2 separate regions of the Homo sapiens genome follow, and region 1 is linked to region 2. The links are contacts of gene promoters, found by promoter capture Hi-C in human tissues and cell types (Jung and others, 2019). All regions are on one chromosome and are shown on one strand. Each heading gives the region's core, a stretch centred on a gene start or on the middle of the fragment in contact. The rest is flanking DNA. Distances are from core to core; before and after follow the strand shown.

Evidence for each region. Contacts are between HindIII fragments. The study calls those that stand out against the background at their distance.
Region 1: a fragment that was not itself captured here is called in contact with the fragment with the promoter of SP140L in region 2 in 2 of the 25 tissues and cell types used here (lymphoblastoid cells and thymus).

Annotation. Positions count from the first base shown.
Region 1 is chr2:230,393,631-230,397,041 of GRCh38, reverse strand. SP140L (SP140 nuclear body protein like) reads right to left here. Exons shown (of 19, transcript NM_138402.6): 14 at 244-285. It overlaps LOC105373925 (a long non-coding RNA gene), which reads left to right. Exons shown (of 4, transcript XR_001739922.2): 4 at 2,737-2,893. Among named protein-coding and RNA genes, the nearest start is that of SP100, 21 kb to the left of the region's middle. The HindIII fragment of the contact is 6,208 bases long and covers 1-3,411 here.
Region 2 is chr2:230,325,023-230,328,466 of GRCh38, reverse strand. SP140L (SP140 nuclear body protein like) reads right to left here and starts at 1,274. Exons shown (of 19, transcript NM_138402.6): 1 at 1,166-1,274. The coding sequence starts at 1,197. RefSeq lists an enhancer at 1,131-1,600. The HindIII fragment of the contact is 8,396 bases long and covers 1-3,444 here.

The DNA of each region.
Region 1 (3,411 bases), core at 738-3,237, 68 kb before region 2:
GAATAAGGAAGTAAGGATATTGGAGGGTTTCCACTGAAACAGATGGAAAGAGTGCTTTCACACTGCAAGACATCCAAGGCCCAAGCACATCTACCTGGCTTGGGTGATGCAACTGAATTCACACAGCCACATACTCCAACTGAGACTGAACATGCTTCAGGCAACAGCAGTCATGACACAGAACATATGCCTGGAGAAAGAAGTGGAATATTCTGGGGGTTGTAGTTCAGAATTTATACTTACACAAGGGTCAACTGAGCTATTGTTTTGAGACTTCAGTATTCTCTGTTGAAAAAACAGAAAGATTGATTTATGATATTGAATGCATTGTTTCCATCTATCACTTACTTAAATTTAAATAGTCATCTTTGAAGGGATTCAGGAACCAGTTGTAAAAAAATAATTGGGAGGAGATGAAGGCCAGTAGGCTGGGGTGGCTCCAGTGCTTTAATTTCCTATGTAAGCAAACTGAAACCTGATGTAAACAGTAAAATGAAACTAGAGAATTTACCAACTGGAATCCGTCATCTACCTCTAATTAGCATCTTTCCATGATAATCCATTAAATATAATTTCTCTGTCTTACTCCTGTGTTGGCCTCACCATCTGGGCTGCTACAGCATAGCTCTCTGAACCTCTTCTTGTTCTGAGTGCTGCCCAATTCATGAATTGCTCTTTGCTCCAATAAATGCTATTAAATTTATTTTGTCTAAAGTTTTATTTTTTTAAACAGTCTTCCCTTTACCTCATATCTGATTTTTTGGACCTATATATCTACTGAGGGAAGAAAAAGTGCCCAAGTACTACTGTTCAGCCCAATGCAAGTCCCATTCCCTGCAGGGAGTCTGGACCTAGTTTGCCCAGGCCAAGTCAGAGAAGCTCTACTTGTCCTCTTACTCCAAGGGGCCCTCAGGCATATTTCCTAAACTTGGCCTTTGTGTCATCCCACCCAGAGGAGTTGCAATAATAATCAGGCTGAGAATTTATCCCCCACAGCCTACAGGGACCACAGGGCCCAGAGTCCTGGAGGCCATGAAAGTGTCCCAGAGAAGAGCACTGCTTTCTGCAGCTCCCCTAGGGACACAGCCCTGGTGATAAAATGACTCCAAGGTCCTCTGTGCTGCAGCTCTTCTTCCTGAGAGTCTCCTGCTCTCCCTTCTATCCAAATCACAAGATGTCAGGTTGACTGTCTTTTAAGAGGTAACCCACTAGATTTATTTAGATTGCTTTTGGATATCCATTGCAGGAGTTGGCACCTTTCCCTTCTGGGATACAGGCAGCCTCAGCTTTTGTCTGTAGCCCAGGGCACAGGGCTATAAACAAGTGTGATCTAAAGCACAAGCACCTGAGAGGTGACCTTGTCACTGAGTGCGTCTCTGACTAGCCTAAATCTCCTACTCCACCCATTTGTAATTCATCCATGTTTACAATAAAATTGAAACAATTTTTTTTTCTTTTTTTTGAGACAGGGTTTCACTCTGTCACCCAGGCTAGAATGCCATGATAAAATCACAGCTCACTATAGCCTCGACCTCCCAGGCTTGAGTGATCCTCCCACCTCAGCCTCCTGAGTAGGTGGGACTACAGGTATGCACCACAATGCCTGGGTATTTTTCTATTTTTTTTTGGTAGAGATGATATCTCACGATGTGTCCAGGTTGGTCTCAAATTCCTGAGCTCAAGTCATCCTCCCATCTCAGCCTCTCAAAATGCTGGCATTATAGGCTCTAGTCACCATGCCTGGCTTGAAATGATTTTTGAGGTCAATCTTCTGTAATGCCATTGGAATTTAGTATATGCTTGATAAGTATATGTTCAATGGGTGAATAAATGAATATTGTTTCAAGAGTTCAAGACCAGCCTGTCCAACATGGCAAAACCCTGTCTCTACTAAAAATACAAATAATTAGCCAGGTGTGGTGACAGGCACCTGTAATCCCAGCCACTTGGGAGGCTGAGGCAGGAGAATTGCTTGAACCTGCGAGGCTGAGATTGCTCCACCGCACTCCAGTCTGAATGACAAGAGTGAAACTCCGTCTCAAAAAAAAAAATTACTGGAGTCTCTTAAGCAAGCATTAGCACACAACGATTATTCTGGGTGAGTGTATCAGATTGTTTTACAACACCGCAGCTACCACCAAAAGGTTTATGTGGCCCTTGTCATGAGCCTGAGCAGAGACATTATCATGTGGCACTGATAGTGACACTGAAGTTTCCAGAAGCCAAGTGGCTCTGCAAGGAAGAGAAGCTCTGAGAGGCACAGAGGACCCATGGAGTTCATAATGGATCCTGGATCTGCCACTCGGGGGACCTCTGTTCTCCCCATGAGGAGACATAACATATAGAGGCAACTGTAGCTTGTTGCTGCTAAGTGTTGCACCCCTGAATAGAGGGAGAGTCGGTTGGTTGGAAATTGCCAGCTCATTTGGGTCACCCAGGCTGAGTTACTCTTGGCACCTGGGGAAAGGTAGAGTTGCTGGTCTTTAGTGTACTCACTGAATAGGTGACATCATAGTTTCCCTTCGGGAAACCCAGTGGATGAAATGTCTCAGTGGCTGAGAATTCAAATCAGCCAGTATATCAGATAATGTAAAGGCCTGGATCTCAGGTTCCCAGTGGAATATGAAGCTTAGTGGCTAGCTATGTGTGAGCTGTTTTAGAAGTCTGTGAATGTCTTGAATGCATATTTCTACCTGAAGTGCATAAGGATGACATTTTTCTCTTTCCCCTCCTCAGGTTCTCATTCACACCCAGTCTTCGAAAAACCATCACCTTGTCCTGAATCTACACTGCACTTAACCTATTTGTTTGTTGCGTTCTTAAGTGAAGGAAAAATCACTTTCACAGATAAAAAGCAGGTCTGCACAGTCCCTCTGGTAGAACCAAAGAGGTGGCATCAACATAAAAGATTTTCCTGGTCAGCTCCTCCTGTAAAATACGTTTGCCTCTGGAGATCTTCCTCCCCAATGGCACCATCTTGACAAAGGTAAATAATTTCCCATTGAGAAAGAATTCTGTGTATCTGTGTGTACATTTTTTTGGAAGGTGAAAGAGGATGTGAAAGATCAGAAAAGAAATATTATTTTTATTACCTATTTCATGAAATGATATATGGTTTCATACATGTCTCAAGTGACTGTGAGGAGACGTTTGCTCTATCAATTTCACAAAAGTTAGAAAATAATAACATCAATGAAAAAAATCTGATTTTGAGTTGGAGATGATACTCTCACCTTATTATGAAATATTTTTATGTATTCCATGACCGTGTTGGATTTTCCAACTTTGACACTCTTACAACATCTGTATCTATTGCTGAAACACATTCAGGAGGTTTGTTTTGAGGGCTCCTCAGCATCTCCATCTGATACGGTTTAATCCAAAGAGGACCTAGCTTTATATACACAAAGT
Region 2 (3,444 bases), core at 25-2,524:
GATTTCCACCATTAAAATGAGTAGAAATGCAAAATGCAGAATAGCACGCACAATGTAATTCCATTTATTACAAAACGAGAACACAAATTATATGTTTACAAAAACATACTTCATACACGTAAATGCATCGAAAAATATGAGAAAAGTTATGCCGAAGACTCTTCACAAGACTGTGAAAGGAAGCTACAAGGCGAAGTGAGTGGTGAAGAAGACTTTTTCGTTTATACACTTCTCCACTGTTTGAAATTTTATGAGTAAGAATGTAATGTATTTCTTTTGTATTAAAAAATTTAAAAGATTAAAATCGCTTGAACCCAGGAGACAGAGGTTGCAGTGAGCCGGGATTGTGCCACTGCACTCCAGCCTGGTTGACAGAGTGAGACCCTGTCTCAAAAAAATGAAATAAAATAAAAAGATTACGTAATGTTATTTATAAACTCGTTACTAGAGAAAAGATAGGATTTCCATCTCTTTTCTGGTCAGAGGCATCCCCCATCTTGGGACAGGAAATTGAAGTAAAAATAAAAATATTTAGCTTTCTGCCATCCTGGGCCTTTTTCTTCTTTTTCCTTCTTTGGATCAAGGTCAATTGTATCAGAACTCACACCCTGAGTCAGTCAAGGAAATAGCCCCAAAGCTGACTGAGGCCCCTTGCCAAGACAGGTGAAACCACAGTTTCCAATGTTTAAAAGTAAGCCAGCTGTTTACCCTGGAGTGTCTATTTCCAAACTACCTTCTTTGACATGACATATGTGAAGGTAGAGAGGGCAGAGGGATGTGAAAGGGTTGGGAGATCATGAGGAAATGTTTGTTGAAACACAAACATATAATTTGTGTTCCTCATTCTCATGAGGAAATAATAACTCTCAGTCACAAATGACTGAAACGACTGTTCAGAGTGTCCCCGCCAGCTGAGCAGTAGTTTCAAAACAAGAAAAGTCATCTGTGTTATGGCAAGCTGGACTCACACAAACAGCTGTCCTGCTGCAGTTGTAAAAATCTGATTTCCTTATTACATTCTCTTTTATTCCATTATATTACACTACCTACCTATGTTCTTGCAAAGCAGGACTAAACTGAAGCTTTAGACAGAAACTGAACTACAGGCATGAAAGCTCCAATACTGCCAGAGATAAAGGTGAAAGGAAGAGAGATAAAGACTCACCTGGTGCTCAGGTCGCTGCCCCCACCTGCCATCGTCCCACCCTAGGCCCTGCCTGGGTGTCAGAGCCTGGCCTATGAGCTCCCCAGTCGGCCCAGCCTGCGTGCAGTGTGGCTGCCCTGACCCGGAGCAGGAAGTCGGCCGACAGACTGACTCACCCTCACAGATTTCTGCCCAAATGGGGAAAAGAAAAGTGAAAGTATTTATTTAACTTCCTGCTGGGATACAGACACCGTGTTTCTCCTCCTTTTTCACTCCAAGGGGTTCTCAGCTTTTCTGAAATGTGGCAGACGGTTGGAGGAGAGGCCTGACAAGCAGCAAGACCTGCAGGACCAGGGAAAGGAGGGCCCAGAGGACGAGCAGGGCTGGCTTCCGGGAGTCCACTTGCTTGTGCAATGGACAGCAAAAAAAAAAAAAATGTCCTTGAACCAAAATAGTCCTTAGCTGCTCTGCCCTCTTAAGAGGGGGCATAGTTTACATGGGAGTTGGGGGGAAAACTCCATGTTTGCCCCTTCCCCTTGCTGAAATGGCTGGGGGTGAGAGTTGGAGGGTTGGAGGGAAAGCCAGAAACTTCAAATCTTCTCTCAGGCCCATGGGAGAGCATGGACTGGACTAAGGTAGGTCCTGACATGGGGACCCAGGGCTGGAGAGAACCAAAATGCTCAGCATTATAACCTGGGGAGAGTGTTCTTAGCCTTCCTGGAAATCAGCCAGAAGTAAGAGAGAACTCTCCACACCCCTGGGACCAGAGGCTGGAGCCAGCATGGTAAGAAAGGCAAACATTTTAAGGGGCAAGGGTTTAAGGAATCTTGACTATGGGGCCACCTTGGAACAGCCAGGGATGAAGAGAGCTTCGGAGAAGTCACTGGAATCTTGAGAGAACAAAAGCTTCTCATTGGAGGAGGATGGAGGTTGGAACCCAGATGATCTAGACATGGAAGGGCAGGGTGGCTCCCGCGGGAGGTTCTATCTCTTCCCAGATTTTCCATTTAGATTCTGATTCAACATTCCTCAGAGAACAAGAAGCGACCGAGAAGACTCGCTTTACATCAGTATAAAGTCATAGGTAAAGAAATAGAAGCAAAGGGCGCATGAGAATGGGGCCACAGGACACAACCAGGGACCAGAACTCCAGGCTGGACCATGGGGCAGAGACAGGGAGGCAGCTGGGAGCCTGGGGGCGCTGGAATCCAGGGCCCAAGGTGAGCAGAGGGTGGAAGCTGGTGAGGATTCAGGGGCCAGAGGGGATGGTGCTCCAGAGCCATGTTTTCCAAATTACATTCTGCTGAATCCAACTTTTTCCAGCCCCCACCCCCAGCCATCTCAGCAAGGGGAAGGGGCAAACATGGAGTCCTCCCCCAACTCCCATGTAAACTATGCCCCATCTTAGAGGGCAGAGCAGCTAAGGACAATTTTGGTTCAAGGACTTTTTTTTTTTTTGCTGTTTATTGCACAATAGTTGGAAGCTGTGAATGCTTGTTCAGGTACATTTGAAAATACGAGGGTGGGGGGTTTCTACCCTGATTCTACTGGTGCCCTGCTTTCCCCAAAATGAGTTAATAAGCAGGTGCCAAGACACTGGTGAGGACAGCTTTTCCAGTGGGCGAGGTCACTGTTTCTATCAGGTACTGCACACCTGTAGGTCTCTCTCTCTCTTTCTCTTGCTCGCTCCCCCATGACTCCCCAGTTTTATGGAGGCACAGTGGCTGGTAAGCTGAGCATCTGTTGGGCACAGTTGTCCTCTGATCCCAGTCTCCATGGAGCACAGCAGCACTGACAAGGCCTGGCGCGGACCACACCAGTCGGCTCTGGCGTCTGCACTCACCCCTCTCACTGCTCTTGGGCAGCAAGCAGGCCCAGGCCACTGAGTGGCACTGACATATGTACCAGCTTTTCTCTGGGTGTGCTTAGGGGCTGGAATTCCAGACCAATGAGCTGGCTGGAAATCTGCAAGTGTTGACCTTTACAGGTGGACATGCCCTTGCTAGGGCAGCTCCTGACAGCAGGGAAGGAGATGTTCTTGTCAGACAGGGTTGGAAAAAGCTGAGCACACACCACACTCTGCAAAAGCAATGCCAGTTAATGGAGAATCTCTAGGCTTCTGTGGGAAAAGCAAAGTTTCTTTGATCTGGAATACATCAGACACACCTGGGTTGGGAAAGGGACAGGACCAAATTAAGAAGTAGTATGAAGTTCTAAAAATCCTGCTGGATTGTTTAGAAGGAAATAATGGAACTCCTGGAGCATTTTCTATGGCTGCAAGGAGTACAGGCAACAGGGAA